Regions from separate parts of the Homo sapiens genome. Here region 1 is linked to region 2. The links are contacts of gene promoters, found by promoter capture Hi-C in human tissues and cell types (Jung and others, 2019). All regions are on one chromosome and are shown on one strand. Each heading gives the region's core, a stretch centred on a gene start or on the middle of the fragment in contact. The rest is flanking DNA. Distances are from core to core; before and after follow the strand shown. Region 1 has its middle 10 kb from the start of AFG3L2. Region 2 holds the start of SPIRE1 (spire type actin nucleation factor 1).

Evidence for each region. The method cuts DNA at HindIII sites, captures the fragments that hold promoters and counts their contacts. A contact is called where the count stands out against the background at its distance.
Region 1: a contact is called between a fragment that was not itself captured here and the fragment with the promoter of SPIRE1 in region 2, in 5 of the 25 tissues and cell types used here (dorsolateral prefrontal cortex, hippocampus, lymphoblastoid cells and 2 more).

Annotation. Positions count from the first base shown.
Region 1 is chr18:12,383,571-12,391,080 of GRCh38, forward strand. No RefSeq gene overlaps it. Among named protein-coding and RNA genes, the nearest start is that of AFG3L2, 10 kb to the left of the region's middle. The HindIII fragment of the contact is 5,953 bases long and covers 908-6,860 here.
Region 2 is chr18:12,653,711-12,660,913 of GRCh38, forward strand. SPIRE1 (spire type actin nucleation factor 1) reads right to left here and starts at 4,397. Exons shown (of 17, transcript NM_001128626.2): 1 at 3,820-4,397. The coding sequence starts at 4,156. It also overlaps a transcript of PSMG2 not described here. RefSeq lists silencers at 3,817-3,936, 4,127-4,546, 4,416-4,584, 4,587-4,656, 4,707-4,856. The HindIII fragment of the contact is 13,339 bases long and covers 1-7,203 here.

The sequences.
Region 1 (7,510 bases), core at 2,634-5,133, 270 kb before region 2:
AGTTTTGCTCTTGTTGCCCAGGCTGGAGGGCAATGGCGTGATCTCGGCTCACCGCAACCTCCGCCTCCCGGGTTCAAGTGATTCTCCTGCCTCAGCCTCCCGAGTAGCTGGGATTACAGGCATGTGCCACCATGCCCAGCTAATTTTGTATTTTTAGTAGAGACAGGGTTTCTCCATGTTAGTCAGGCTGGTCTTGAACTCCCGACCTCAGGCGATCCACCTGCCTCAGCCTCCCAAAGTTCTGGGATTACAGGCGTGAGCCACTGCAACCGGCCATGTTGTATTTTTAAGTCAGGATCTTGCTCTGTCATCCAGACTGGAATGCAGTGGCACAATCACAGCTCACTGCAACCTTGACCTCCTGGGCTCAAGTAATCCTCCTGCCTCAGCCTCCCAAAGTGCTGAGATTATAGATGTGAGCCACCACACCCAGCTAAACAATACTATAGCTCACACCTGTAATCCCAGCACTTTCAGAGGCTGAGGCAGGCAGATCACTTGAGTTCAGGAGTTCAAAACCAGCCTGGCCAACATGGTGAAACTTTGTCTCTACTAAAAATAAAAAAATTAGCCAGGCATGGTGGCGCATGCCTGTAGTCCCAGTTACTTGAGAGGCTGAGGCAGAAGGATTGCTTGAGCACAGGAGGAAGAGCTTGTAGTGAGCAGAGAGCATGCAACTGCACTCCAGCCTGAGCAAAGGGAGTGAAACCCTGTCTCAAAAAAAATAAAATAAAATAAACCATAAACCAACTAGACCTACAAGACGTATATGCAGAGCTCCTCCCAACAACAGAATACACATTCTTCTCAAGTGCACAGGAAACATTCTCTGGGATAGACCATATGATAGGCCACAAAACAAGTCTCAATAGATTTAAAAAGACTGAAATCATGCAAACTATCTTCTCTGACCACATTGGAATGAAGTTAAAAATCAATAACAAGAGGAAAACTGGAAAACTCACAAATATGTGGCTGTGAAACAACACACCCTCAAATAGCCAATGACTGAGAGAAGAAATCACAAGGAAAATTAGAGAATACTGCGAGACAAAGGAGAATAAAAACACAATATGCTGAAACTTATGGATGCAGTGAAGGCAGTTCTCAAACAGAAATTTATAGCTGTAAATAGCTACATTTTAAAAAGAAGAAAGATCTCAAATCAATAACTTTACACCTTGAGGGAATAGAAAAAGAACGAACTAAACTCAAAGCTAGATGAAGGAAAAAAATAATAAAGATTAGAGCAGAGATAAATAAAATAGAAAAGAGGAAAAGCAATCGAGAAAATTAACAAAAACAGGAGTTGGTTCTTAAAAAGATAAATAGGCCGGGCCCAGTGGCTCACATCTGTAATGCCAGCACTTTGGGAAGCCGAGGCAGGCAGATCATGAGGTCAGGAGTTTGAGACCAGCCTGACCAATGTGATGAAACCCTGTCTCTACTAAAAATACAAAAATGAGCCAGGCATGGTGACACGCACCTGTAATCCAAGCTACTCAGGAGGCTGAGGCAGGAGAATCTCCTGAACCCGGTAGGTGGAGGTTGCAATGAGCCGAGATCTCGCTATTGCACTCCAGCCTGGGTGACAGAGCAAGACTCCATCTAAAAAAAAAGGAGATCATGTCTAGCTATATTGCCCAGGCCAGAGTGCAGTGATATGACCATAGCTTACACAAGCCTTAAACTCCCAGGTTCCAGTGATCCTCCTGCCTCAGCCTCCCAAGTAGCTGGGACTATAGGCATTTGCCACCATGCCTAGCTCTAATCCTTTTCCTGTAAAAGGTCAATAGTAGTTACCCCACTTTTATTTCTGATTTTAGATATTTGCAACTTCTCCCTGTTTTCTTTGTCAGTCTAGTTAAAGATTTGTCAACTTTGGCCGAGTGCGGTGGCTCATGCCTGTAATCCCAGCATTTTGGGAGGCCAAGGCAGGTGGATCACGAGGTCAGGAAATTGAGACCACCCTGGCTAACACAGTGAAACCCTGTATCTACTAAAAATACAAAAAAATTAGCCAGGCGTGGTGGCGGGCGCCTGTAGTCCCAGCTATTTGGGAGGCTGAGGCAGGAGAATGGTGTGAACCCGGGAGGCGGAGCTCGCAGTGAGCTGAGATCGCGCCACCGCACTCCAGCCTGGACTACAGAACGAGACTCCATCTCAATAAATAAATAAATAAGTTTTGTCAATTTTATTTATCTTTTTTTTTTGAGATGGAGTCTTGCTGCTCTGTCACCCAGGCTGGAGTGCAGTGGCACAATCTCAGCTCACTGCAACCTCTGCCTCCTGGGTTCAAGCCATTCTCCTGACTCAGCCTGTAATCCCAGCACTTTGGGAATCCGAGGCGGGCTGATCACGAGGTCAGGAGTTCGAGACCGGCCTGGCCAATATGGTGAAACCCCGTCTCTACTAAAAAAATATAAAAATTAGTTGGGCATGGTGGTGCACGCCTGTAGTCCCAGCTACTTGGGAGGCTGAAACAGGAGAATCTCTTGAACCTGGGAGGTGGAGGTTGCAGTGAACGGAGATCATGCCACTGCACACTCTAGCCTGGGCAACAGAGTGAGACTTCATCTTAAAAAAAGAAATTTAAGAAGACTTAAATAAGTGAAAGGGTATTCCATGTTAGTGGATTGGAAAACAATATTGTTAAGATAGCAAAACTGCCCAAAGCCATCTACAGATTCAGTGCAGTCACAACTCTAAGTGCCTGCCTGCTTGCTTGTTTTCTTTATCTTTCTTTCTTTCTTTCTTTTCTTTCTTTCTTCCTTCCTTCCTTCCATCCATCCTTCCTTCCTTCCTTTCTTTTTCTTTTTGCAGACATGAAAATGCAATCTTCAAATTCATATGGAATTGCAAAGGGCCCCAAATACAACCTTGAAAAAGAATACAGTTGTAGGATTCATACTTCTCATTTACAAAACTTCATAAAATCAAAACTGTAGGTATTGGCATAAGGACAGACATATAGACGTACAGAATATAATTAAGAATCCAGAAGTAAATTCATACATGTCAACTAATTTTTGACAAGGATGCAAAGTTCATCTAATAGAGAAAGAATAGTCTTTTCAACAAATGGTTCTAGGAGAACTGGATGCAAAAGAATGAGTTGGAGCCTTACCCCTCACACCATATACGAAATTAGATTGATTTATTTACTTATTTATTTAGAGACAAAGTCTTACTCTGTCACCCAGACTGGAATGTAGTAGTGTGATCATAGCTCACTGCAGCCTCAACCTTTGGGCTGAAGTGATCCTCCCACCTCATCCTCCAAAGTAGCTGGGACTACAGGTGCACACCACTATACCTGGCTAGTTTTTTAAATTTTTTGCAGAAATAGGGTGTCACTATGTTGCTTACACTGGTCTCAAACTCCTGGCCTCAAGCAACCCTCCTACCTCATTCTCTCAAAGAGCTGGGATTATAGGTATGAGCCCCTGCACCCAGCCAAATTGTATATTTAGATGGTTTAAATGACAAATTTATATTGTAAATTTTTAGCACAATAAAAAAGAAAAAAATGCTTCAATTAAAAAAAAAGAAAAGAGGTCAGGTGCGGTGGCTCATGCCTGTAGTCCCAGCATTTTAGGAGACCAAGGCGGGTGGATTGCTTGAGGCCAGGAGTTCAAGACCAACCTGGTCAACATGGCAAAACTCCATCTCTACTAAAAATACAAAAATTAGCCAGGCATGGTGGCGCACATCTGTAGTCCCAGCTACTTGGGAGGCTGAGGCACAAGAATCACTTGAACTTGGGAGACAGAGGTTGAAGTGAGCCAAGATCACGCCACTACACTCTAGCCTCAGCCACGGAGTGAGACTCTGTCTCAAAAAAAACGCCTGTAATCCCAGCACTTTGGGAGGCCGAGGTGGGCGGATCACGAGGTCAGGAGATCGAGACCACGGTGAAACCTCGTCTCTACTAAAAATACAAAAAATTAGCCAGGCGCAGTGGCAGGCGCCTGTAGTCCCAGCTACTCGGGAGGCTGAGGCAGGAGAATGGCATGAACTCGGAAGACGGAGCTTGCAGTGAGCCGAGATCGTGCCACTGCACTCCAGCGACAGAGCGAGACTCCGTCTCAAAAAAAAAAAAAAAAACAAACAAAAAGAAAAGAAAACATGAATGAATCTTGAAAATAGTATGCTACACAAAAAGGCCACATAGTGTGTGAATCAATTTACATAAAATGTCCAAATAGGCAGATCTATAGAGACGGAAGCAGATAGTGGCTATATAGGGTTGATGGAGGGAGGGGAGGGATTGGGAAGGGTGCTAGCTAAGGGTTTCAGGTTTCTTTCCAAGGTGATCAAAATGTCCTAAGATCAATTGTGGTGATGGTTGTACCGCTCTTTGAATGACCTAAAACCATTAATTTCAACATTTTAAATAGATGAACTATATGGTATATAAATGATATCTCATTGAAGCTATTTTTTTAATGGGCAAAGGACTTGAATAGACATGTCCTCGAAGAAGACATACAAATGGCCAACCAGCACATAGAGAGAGGCTCAACATCATTAGCTGTCAATGAAAGTCAAATCAAAACCACGAGATTCCACTTCACACTCTAGGAGGGCTGCAATCAAAAATACTATAGATAGTACAAAATAATATAGATGTATACATAATAAAGATAACAAGTATTATCAAGAGTGTGGAGAAATTGGAACCCTCACGCTAGTAGGTCTATGGAAAACTGTCAATTTTCATAGGTTAAACATAGTCATATGACTCAGCATGTCCACTCCTGGGCATCTTCCCAAGATAATTGAAAGGATATATCCACACAGAAACCTGTACATGTGTTCATAACAAAGGTACATATGCTGTGTTCATAGCAGCATTATTCATGATAGCCAAAAACCAGAAAGGGCCTAAATATGTATCAACTGAATGGATAAAATGAAATGTGGTGTATTATTACAATGGATTATTATTCAGCCATAAAATGAAGACCTGATACATGCTATAGCATGGATAAACCTTGGAAACAAAGAAATCAGACATGAAAGACCACATATTATAAGATTGCATTTATACATATGAAATATGCTGAACAGGCAAATCCATGGAGACGGAAGACGGTGATTAGGGATTGCCAGGGGCTGGGGGGATGGTTGATAGAGTGTGCAAGACTAATGAAGGTGGCTGCCTACAGCAGGCAGGATGGTGTGGACTGTCTGAGCTTCTCGGTGTGTGCTTTTTCACAGTGTTTACCTTATTGAACCATGTGAAAATATTACCTATTCAAATAAAATATAATACAATCTAAGACTATTAAAGGATGTTATTTTTTTCAGTGCTGAGTGAGATTACAAGTACTTTTGAAAAAATAATTTTATGACTATGTATATTTTCCAAATATCTTATAATAAATGTATAATAGTTTTACGAGCAAGAAAATGTAAAATGTTGAAATATAAAAGGTTCAGTATAAGGATGGGGCCAGGTGCAGTGGATTATAGAATCCCAGCACTTTGAGAAGCCAAGTGGGGAGGATGGCCTGAGGCCAGGAGTTTGAGACCAGCCTGGGCAACACAGTGAGATCCCCGTCTGTACAAAAAAATTTAAAAATTAGGCCAGGTGCAGTGGCTCATGCCTGTAATCCCAGCACTTTGGGAAGCTGAGGTGGGCGGATCATTTGAGGTCAGGAGTTCAAGACCAGCCTGGCCAACATGAGGAAACCCCATCCCTACTAAAAATACAAAAATTAGCCAGGCATGGTGGCACGCACCTGTAATCCCAACTACTCTGGAGGCTGAGGCAGGAGAATCACTTGAACCCGGGAGGGGGTGGTTTGCAGTAAGCCAAGATCAAGCTACTGCACTCCAGCCTGGGAGACACAGTGAGATTCTGTCTAAAAAAAAGAAAAAAAAAAAAAACCGCCAGGCACGGTGGCCCATGCCTGTAATCCCAACACTTTGGGAGGCTGAGGCCGGGTGGATCACAAGGTCAGGAGTTCAAGACCAGCCTGGCCAAGATGATGAAATCCGGCCTCTACTAAAAATACAAAAATTAGCCACGCATGGCCAGGCGCGGTGGCTCACGCCTGTAATCCCAGCACTTTGAGAGGCCAAGGCGGGTGGATCACGAGGTCAGGAGATTGAGACCATCCTGGCTGACACAGTGAAACCCTGTCTCTACTAAAAATACAAAAAATTAGCCGGGCGTGGTGGCGGGTGCCTGTAGTCCCAGCCACTCTGGAGGCTGAGGCAGGAGAATGGCATGAACTCGGGAGGCGGAGCTTGCAGTGAGCCGAGATCGCACCACTGCACTCCAGCCTGGGTGACAGAGCGAGACTCCATCTCAAAAAAAAAAATTAAAAATTAAAAATTAGCTCAGTGTGCTGGTACAGGCCTGTAGTTCAAGCTACTCAGGAGGCTGAGGCAGGAGGATTGCCTGAGCCCAGAATTCAAGGCTGCAGTGACCTATGATCACACCATTGCACTCCAGCCTAGGTGACAGAACAAGACTCTGTCTTTCAAAATAAAAAAAAAGTTCAGTATAAATTTTTTTTTCATCAGTGTGGACAGAAACAAAGTTACAAAATGAAAAGTAAAAGTATCTTCATTTCTCATGTTCACATCTTAAAGGTAACTTTCTTTCTTTCTTTCTTTCTTTTTTTTTTTTTTTTTGAGACGGAGTCTCACTGTGTTGCCCAGGCTGGAGTGCAGTGGCCTGATCTCAGCTTACTGCAAGCTTTGCCTCGCAGATTTCAAGCTATTCTCCTGCCTCGGCCTCCCAAGTAGCTGGAATTACAGGTGCTCACCACCATGCCTGGCTAATTTTTTTGTATTTTTAGTAGAGACGGGGTTTCACTGTGTTAGCCAGGATGGTTTCGATCTCCTGACCTCGTGATCCACGCACCTCAGCCTCCCAAAGTGCTGGGATTACAGGCGTGAGCCACCGCGCCCGGACTTTTTTTTTTTTTTTTGACACAGTCTCACTCTGTCGCCCAGGCTGGAGTGCAGTGGCTGATCTCGGCTTACTGCAAGCTTTGCCTCCCAGATTTCAAGCTATTCTCCTGCCTTGGCCTCCCGAGTAGCTGGGATTACAGGCACCTGCCACCATGCCCGGCTAATTTTTGTATTTTTAGTGTTTCACTATGTTGACCAGGCTGGTCTCTAACTCCTGACCTCAGGTGATCCACCTGCCTTGGCCTCCCAAAGTGCTGTGATTATAGGCATGAGCCATGGTGCCTGGCCTTTAAAGGTAAATTTCTAGGTAGTTTTTTCTGTGTGTGTGTGTCCATACATTTTATATGTATTTGCAAGCATATAGAACTAATTTTTAGGCCAGGTGTGGTGGCTGATGCCTGTAATCCCAGCACTTTGGAAATCCAAGGCTGGTGAATTGCTTGAGGCCAGGAGTTTGAGACCAGCCTGGCCAACATGGTAAAACCCAGCCTCTACTGAAAATATAGAAAATTAGCCGGGTGTGGTAGCATGCGCTTGTAGTCCCAGCTACAAGGGAAGCTGAGGCCTGAGAACCACTTCA
Region 2 (7,203 bases), core at 3,147-5,646:
GCCAAGGCTGGTGGATCACTGAGGTCGGGAGTTCGTGACCAGCCTGGGCAACATGGGGAAACCCCGTCTCTACTAAAAATACAAAATTAGCCAGGCGTGGTAGTGCATGTCTGGAATCCCAGCTACTCGGGAGGCTGAGGCAGGAGAATCTCTTGAACCCGGGAGGCGGAAGTGGCAGTGAGCCAAGATTGCGCCATTGCACTCCAGCCTGGGCAACAAGAGCAAAACTCCGTCTCAAAAAAAAAAAAGAAAGAAAGAAACAGAAATCAATGGATGTGAAAACATAAACGTTGCAGATTGCTAACTACATATAATCATGATAAATACAATGAAAAAGAAAGTGTGGCCAGGCACCGTGGCTCACTTCTGTAATCCCAGCACTGTGGGAGGCTGAGGCGGGTGGATCACCTGAGGTCAGGAGTTTGAGACCAGCTCAGCCAACATGGTGAAAACCCTTCTCTACTAAAAATACAAAAATTAGCTGGGCATGGTGGTACACACCTGTAATCCCAGCTACTTGGGAGGCTGAGGTAGGAGAATTGCTTGAACCCTGGAGGCGGAGGTTGCAGTCAGCCGAGACTGCACCACTGCACTCCAGCCTGGGCGACAAAGTGAGACTCCACCTCAAAAAAAAAAAAAAAAAAAAAAAAATTTGGCTGGGCACGGTGGCTCACGCCTGTAATCCCAGCACTTTGGGAGGCCGAGACGGGCGGATCACGAGGTCAGGAGATCGAGACCATCCTGGCTAACATGGTGAAACCCCGTCTCTACTAAAAATACAAAAAAATTAGCCAGGCATGGTGGCAGGCATCTTTAGTCCCAGCTACTCGGGAGGCTGAGGTAGGAGAATGGCATGCACCTGGGAGGCGGAGCTTGCAAGCTTGCAGTGAGCTGAGATCGCGCCACCACACTCCAGCCTGGGCGACTGAGCGAGACTCCGTCTCAAAAAAAAAAAAATTATTTTTACTTATTTTCCCCAACTCTTCCCTACAATGGAAGTCTCATGAATACAAACGTTCCTTAAAACTGAAACGAGAAGTCAGGCGCAGTGGCTCACGCCTGCAATCCCAGCACTTTGGGAGGCCGAGGCAGGCGGATCATGAGGTCAAGAGATCAAGACCATCCTGGCCAACATGGCGAAACCCCATTTCTACCAAAAATACAAAAATTAGCTGGGCGTGGTGGCATGCGCCTATAGTCCCAGCTGCTCGGGAGGCTGAGGCAAGAGAATCACTTGAACTCAGGAGGCAGAGGTTGCAGTGAGCCAAGACTGTTCTACAGCACTCCAGCCTGGCAACAGAGGGAGACTCCATCTCAAAAAAAAAAAGAAAGAAAGAAAAGAAAAGAAAAAGAAAAGAGAGACTGGGCAAGGTGGGTTACACCTGTAACCCCAGCACTTTAGCAGGCCAAGGCAGTTGGATCACTTAAGCCCAGGAGTTCCAGGCTGCAATGAGCTATGACTACAGCACTGCACTCCAGCCTTCAGCAGCCTGGGCAATACAGCAAGACCCTGTCAAAAAAAAAAAAGAAGAAAAGAAAAAGAGAGAGAGAGAGAGAAAGAGAAAGAAATAAAGCGAAAGAAAGAAGGAAGGAATAGAATTTTTAAGTGTGCACACCACCAAATTATTCATCAAGTGTAAGAATCAAGATAAAATCTTCAGAAGACTGTATCTTCCTGAGCCACGCAACTATTCTTAAAGCCAATGAGGAAATAAACTAATGTTTTAGTATGAACTTCTTAAATAATTTTAGGCAACAGAAAATGCTCAAGTCTCTATCAACAACTTTGATTAGGCCTCCTCCATAACTGGTAGCGCAGGTCATGAGCAGAACTGAGAAAGAGAATTATAAACCTATTGCGAATTGTGGAGAACAACTCCACTCACTATTTTCTCCATAAAGGCAGTTTATTACACTGAGATCAACATGTTATCACTCACACTAGTGATGTAAAAAATAATCCAATTCAACATAAGATTCAGACCAAAAAAAAAGAAAAAACCCATCCACGAGAATCTATCAATCTTTGACAACAAAACTACACGATTTTGGGATTAAATTTAAGTGACAAGACAATGTAAACTGGGGGCTTGTTCTCTCCGGAAATCACCACTACCAACGCTGCTTCTAAAAGCAGGCTGCACACAACCATTTTTCCTCTGGAAATAGCTAAATCCCAAGGCACGATATTGCTGTATTTTTTTTTGAGACGGCGTCTCGCTCTGTCACCCAGGCTGGAGTGCAGTGGCGCGATCTCAGCTCACTACAGCCTCCACCTCCCAGGTTCAAGCAATTCTCCCACCTCAGCCTCCCGAGTAGCTGGTATTCCAGCGGCACAACACCACGCCCGGCTAATTTTTGTATTTTTAATAGAGACGGGGTTTCACCATGTTGGCCAGGCTGGTCTCGAACTCCTGACCTCAGGTGATCCACCTGCCTCGGCATCCCAAAGTGCTGGGATTACAGGCTTGAGCCACCGCACCTGGCAGACATTGCTGTATTTTATAAATGTATCTTTTGTACCATTTAATACACTATAAATTATAATTGCAAGTATTTCCCACTAAGATTAAGTCCAAGTTTAAAAGCAATAAGCCCATCAAAGAAACAAAAATACTATTTGAAATAGTTTCAAAAGAACAATTAAAAAGATGGCTTTAAATAAAAAATCGTTTACCTGACGCTAAAAAATAAAAGATAAAAGCATGTAAATAAAAATGTGTTTACCTGACACTAAAAAATAAAAGATAAAAACGTTCTGGTGGAACTGAAAGAATAACTATAACCTTGAATATTGTTTTAATCAAGTTAGACAAGGGTTTTCATTAAATGTCATTTTACTAATTCGAAATTACATCTTTCACCTTAAGCATTTTGACATTTCCATCAACTTTCTAAAAGTGAGGGTAGATTGTTTTTCTATGTTTTTAATAGACTTGCCTCTCAAAAGAATGAATTAGATAAAAACTGATGGGAGAAACCTTTTCTCAACCTCCTCCTCCTCTTCAATGAGCATCTGAGTAAACCCTGGCTATAAATTACTGTTTAGGTCATAATCCTGAAAATTTTACATTAGACAATGACGTAACTAAGGCCCATTTTCTCTTTGTATCCCGACATCCTGTCAACTTTTCACTTTACAAGCCTGTTTTTCATCACAACAAATTTTCACATACAGGAATGCAATCAGTATTTTCTAACGTCCAGGAGCCAAAAATCACTATTTAGTCTATTTTTCCATTTCTCCCCAAAGAGCAGAATTCTCACGGTTCAGAATCATCTTTACATTTCCGAACCGAGGAAAGGCTGTCTAATGTGGAATACTGCTAGTTTCCCGTGAGGAGTGCGGTGTTTCCGACAGCGGCACTGAGGATCCGTGCGGAGCCCCCGCGTGAAGCCTGCGATGCCCTCCCCACCCCGTGAACCCGGCCGTGTGTCAGCAGCCACGGCGTGAGGCGCACAGGCCGCTGGCCCGGAGCAGGGCCCAGCCCACCGCTCCCAAACGCGCCGCGGGCAGCTGTCCCGCGGGCAGCACAATGACGAGCGCCCCGCGGCCCGCAGGCCCAGGCCCACCCAAACGTCCTCCGCACAGCGGATTTGCGCCGTCGCCCGCCACGAGGCTCTGACCTCCGAGGGGCCCCGGCCAGCCACGGCCTGACGCCGTCCTCCCCTGCGGGTCCCCGCCGGATCCTCCCGGGGGTCTCCCGTGGCAAAATGGGGGGGGACGGCGGGGGCGGAAGGGCCGGGGACGCTGAGGGTAAGGCGGCCCAGCCGCGGGTGTTCCAAGAACTACGAGGGAAAGGGGCCCGGCGGCCTCACCCGCAACTGGGGGCGGCTCTCCCGCGTCGTCGGCCGCGGGCGCCAGGGTGACGGCGCCGTCCCTCCAGACGCGGATCTGCGCGGCCGAGCGCACACGGTGGCGGGGCTGGCGGCGGCGGGCGGCGGCGCGCAGGGAACCGCAGCACTGGTAGCACACGGCCCACGCCTGCTCCTCGTTGATGGGCTGGTTGTACAGCCGCAGGATCTCCTCCAGGCTCAGCGCGTCCCGGGAGCCCCCGGCCGCGCCGCCGGCTGCCCCGGGCTCCCGCGGCCCCTCGCCGCCCACTGCCTCAGTCCGCGGCTCCCCGCCGCCCGCCGGGCCAGCCGCCTGAGCCATCCCGCGGGTGGGCGCTGCGCTCGGCAGTCGCGCCGTGTGCCGGCGTCTCCTCAGCTCCGGAGCATCGTCGTCGCGCGCCGCCGCCTCACCATCCCCGGAACCGCCGCCGCCCAACGCGGCCGCGCGCGCCGCCGCCGGGACCAGGCGAGTGCCCGGGAGGCGTGGGCAAGAGGAGGGCGGCGAGGACACGGCTGCAGTCCCGGTCAGACAGCCGCCGGCCGGTAGCGACGCGATGGCGTCCGGCGCCCCGCCCCGCCCCGCCCCGCCTCGCGCCGTCCAGCGCCGCCCAGCGCCCGCCCCTTAGGGGGCCGCACGGGCCGGGGGATGCACGCTCTGGAGGTGAGGACCAGGCAGGAGGGCCTCGCCTCGAGGCGAGATGGCCGCACGGTCTCTAGCCCGCAGGGCTCTCAGAGTCGCAGGCGGTGACGCCCGGTCGGGGGGCCCGGTCGCAAGGGACACACAGCTGGGGGCGCAATGGTGAGGGCGGCGACGCACGGTCCGGAGGGGATGCGCGGCCGGGTAGGGCGTGCAGGGTTGTGGGGCGTGGGGGACACGCGGGGCCGGGCGCGCGGTCGGGGGGCGCAGGGGCAAGAGGGTGTCGCATTTATCAGGGAAGTCCCCGGCCGACTCTGGCGGGGAACTGGGCGCGCCAACCCGGGTCACCGCCCTGCACAGCGGGAGAAGTCACCCGCATTGACGTTCCCTAGGCGCTGGATCGCCGAAGGTCTGGTTGAAAACTTGAACCCGCCTGGAGCGGATGCCTAAGAAAATGCAGGCCCGCTGAAGCCTCCCCGCCGGGCCCTGGGCCCTGAAAGCCTCCGGCAGTTTCCCGTGACCCCGCGGCCGCTCTGCGCGTTTTCCGATTTCTTGCTGGTTGAATACCTCCCTCTCCACTCCCATCTTCAGGGTAAGCACCGTAAAGACGGGGATCTTTACGGGTTTTCCTCACTGACTTCTCCCAAAAGCTAAACCAGCGCCTGGAATATAAACATGTACATAATTTGCAGGTGTTAGTTTTAGCGTCCTTCCGGATTCATTTGTAACATTGGTCCCTTCCCTCACTAAGGTAATGTCTCAAGTACCACACTCATCAGAGCATGTGGAATGAATATCACAGTGGTAAAATTGAACTGAGGGCAATTAGCCGTAGAAAGAAAGAATTCCGCCCCCCCAACCTATTAAATATGCAATAAAACAGATAATTCTTAATCACCCATTGGTAGATTAATTTAATCGATAAAATTCCACTGAGGCTAGTCCTGTGTGAAAGCCCTACAGAGTGTTGAAAGCATCAACCAAATAGGCAATGTATATTAAGTTCCAGTAAACCTTTTACGGCAGTTTTATGTAAAATGTTAGAAATCACGCTCTCAACAATTGCATCTTGCGGTAGAAACTACAACAGTCTATTTAAATAACAACAGTCTATTAAAATGAGATACCATCTTACATACAGCTGGGAATGGGGAGGAGGGAGAAAAGCAACAGGACGAAAAGGAAAATTAAGAAATTGAAAGAGGGCCGTGCGCAGTGGCTTAGGCCTGTAATCCCAGCACTTTGGGAGGCTGAGGCGGGCAGATCACTGAGGTCAGGAGTTCGAGACCAGCCTGGCCAACATGGGGAAACCCTGTCTCTACTAAAAATACAAAGAAAATTAGCCGAGTGTGGTGACGCACGCTTGTAATCCCAGCTACCCGGGAGGCTGAGGCAGGAGAATCGCTTGAACCTGGGAGGTGGAAGTTGCAATGAGCCAAGATCACACCACTGCACTCCAGCCTGGGGGACAGAGCGAGAGTCTGTCTCAAAAAAATAAATAATAAATTGAAAGAGGAGAAGAAAGCTCCCCAGGCAACTTATTATAATTTCAGTACGAGAGAGACAAAACAACCCCTTAAAGTAGCATCACTTAATTATAGGTTCATAATCTCATTTGTAGCAATGCAGTATCTATGTGTGCCAAAGCCCAGAGAGGCAAACATGTAATTCCTTATGTGTGACACTATATACATATAAATATATCTCTGTCCTCTTGATTAAAAACAGACAAACATTCCCAAATTTTGCTATTTCAAAAGTTTATCCTGTGTGGATTTTGCAAATACAGACTGGTTTAAAATATTTTGAACAATCCAGGAAAAAAAATGAAGGTCTACTTTTATGGACAACACTACCACCTCCTGGCCTTATGGGATACTGCTGCCCATTGCACTTGGACAACTACAGCCAAACACATTTTTATCTTTGCCTTACCCACCAGTAAACAAGATAAATGGGTTAATAAACTGAGGAATCTATGAGCCATTAACCTGCTAACCCTGGCATAGAGCAGTAAATAAATCTTGAAGACAACAATACAGGGAAGGAGGAAGTGAGTAAAGGAAATCCAAACTTTATCTTTTAAAAGATGCATTCTTCTTTTTTTAGTCATCCCTCTAATCAATGGAAAAAGATGCATTTTTTTTTTTTTTTTAATTGAGACAGAGTCTCACCCTGTCTCCCAGGCTAGGGTCAGTGCCGCGATTTCAGCTCACTGCAACTTCCGCCTCCTGGGTTGAGATGATTCTCGTGCCTCGGCCTCCCGAGTAGCTGGGATTACAGGCACACGCTACCATGCCTGGCTAATTTTTGTATTTTTAGTAAAGACAGGGTTTTACCATGTTGGCCAGGCTGGTCTCAAACTCCTGACTTCAGTGGTCCACCCGCCTCAGCCTCCAAAAGCGCTGGGATTACAGGTGTGAGCCACTGTGCCCGGCCAAAAGATACATTCTTAAAAACAAATTTGCAACACTAGGATTTTCCTTGAGTGATGATTTTTTTTAACATATACACATTTTGAGAGGGAGACATTACTGCACTGTATCACAAGACAGTTATATCCAACAGAAGGGCTTTTTTTTTTATTGCCAAGTAACAATTCATGGTATGATATACTTAAATATTTTGCCTGTGTGAGCATATATGTAATTAAGTTGAGGAAAGATGACAAGTAGAATATTGTGTGATGTTTCTTCTCTACACAAAATAAAGGAAAATCTTTAAAATCCTAG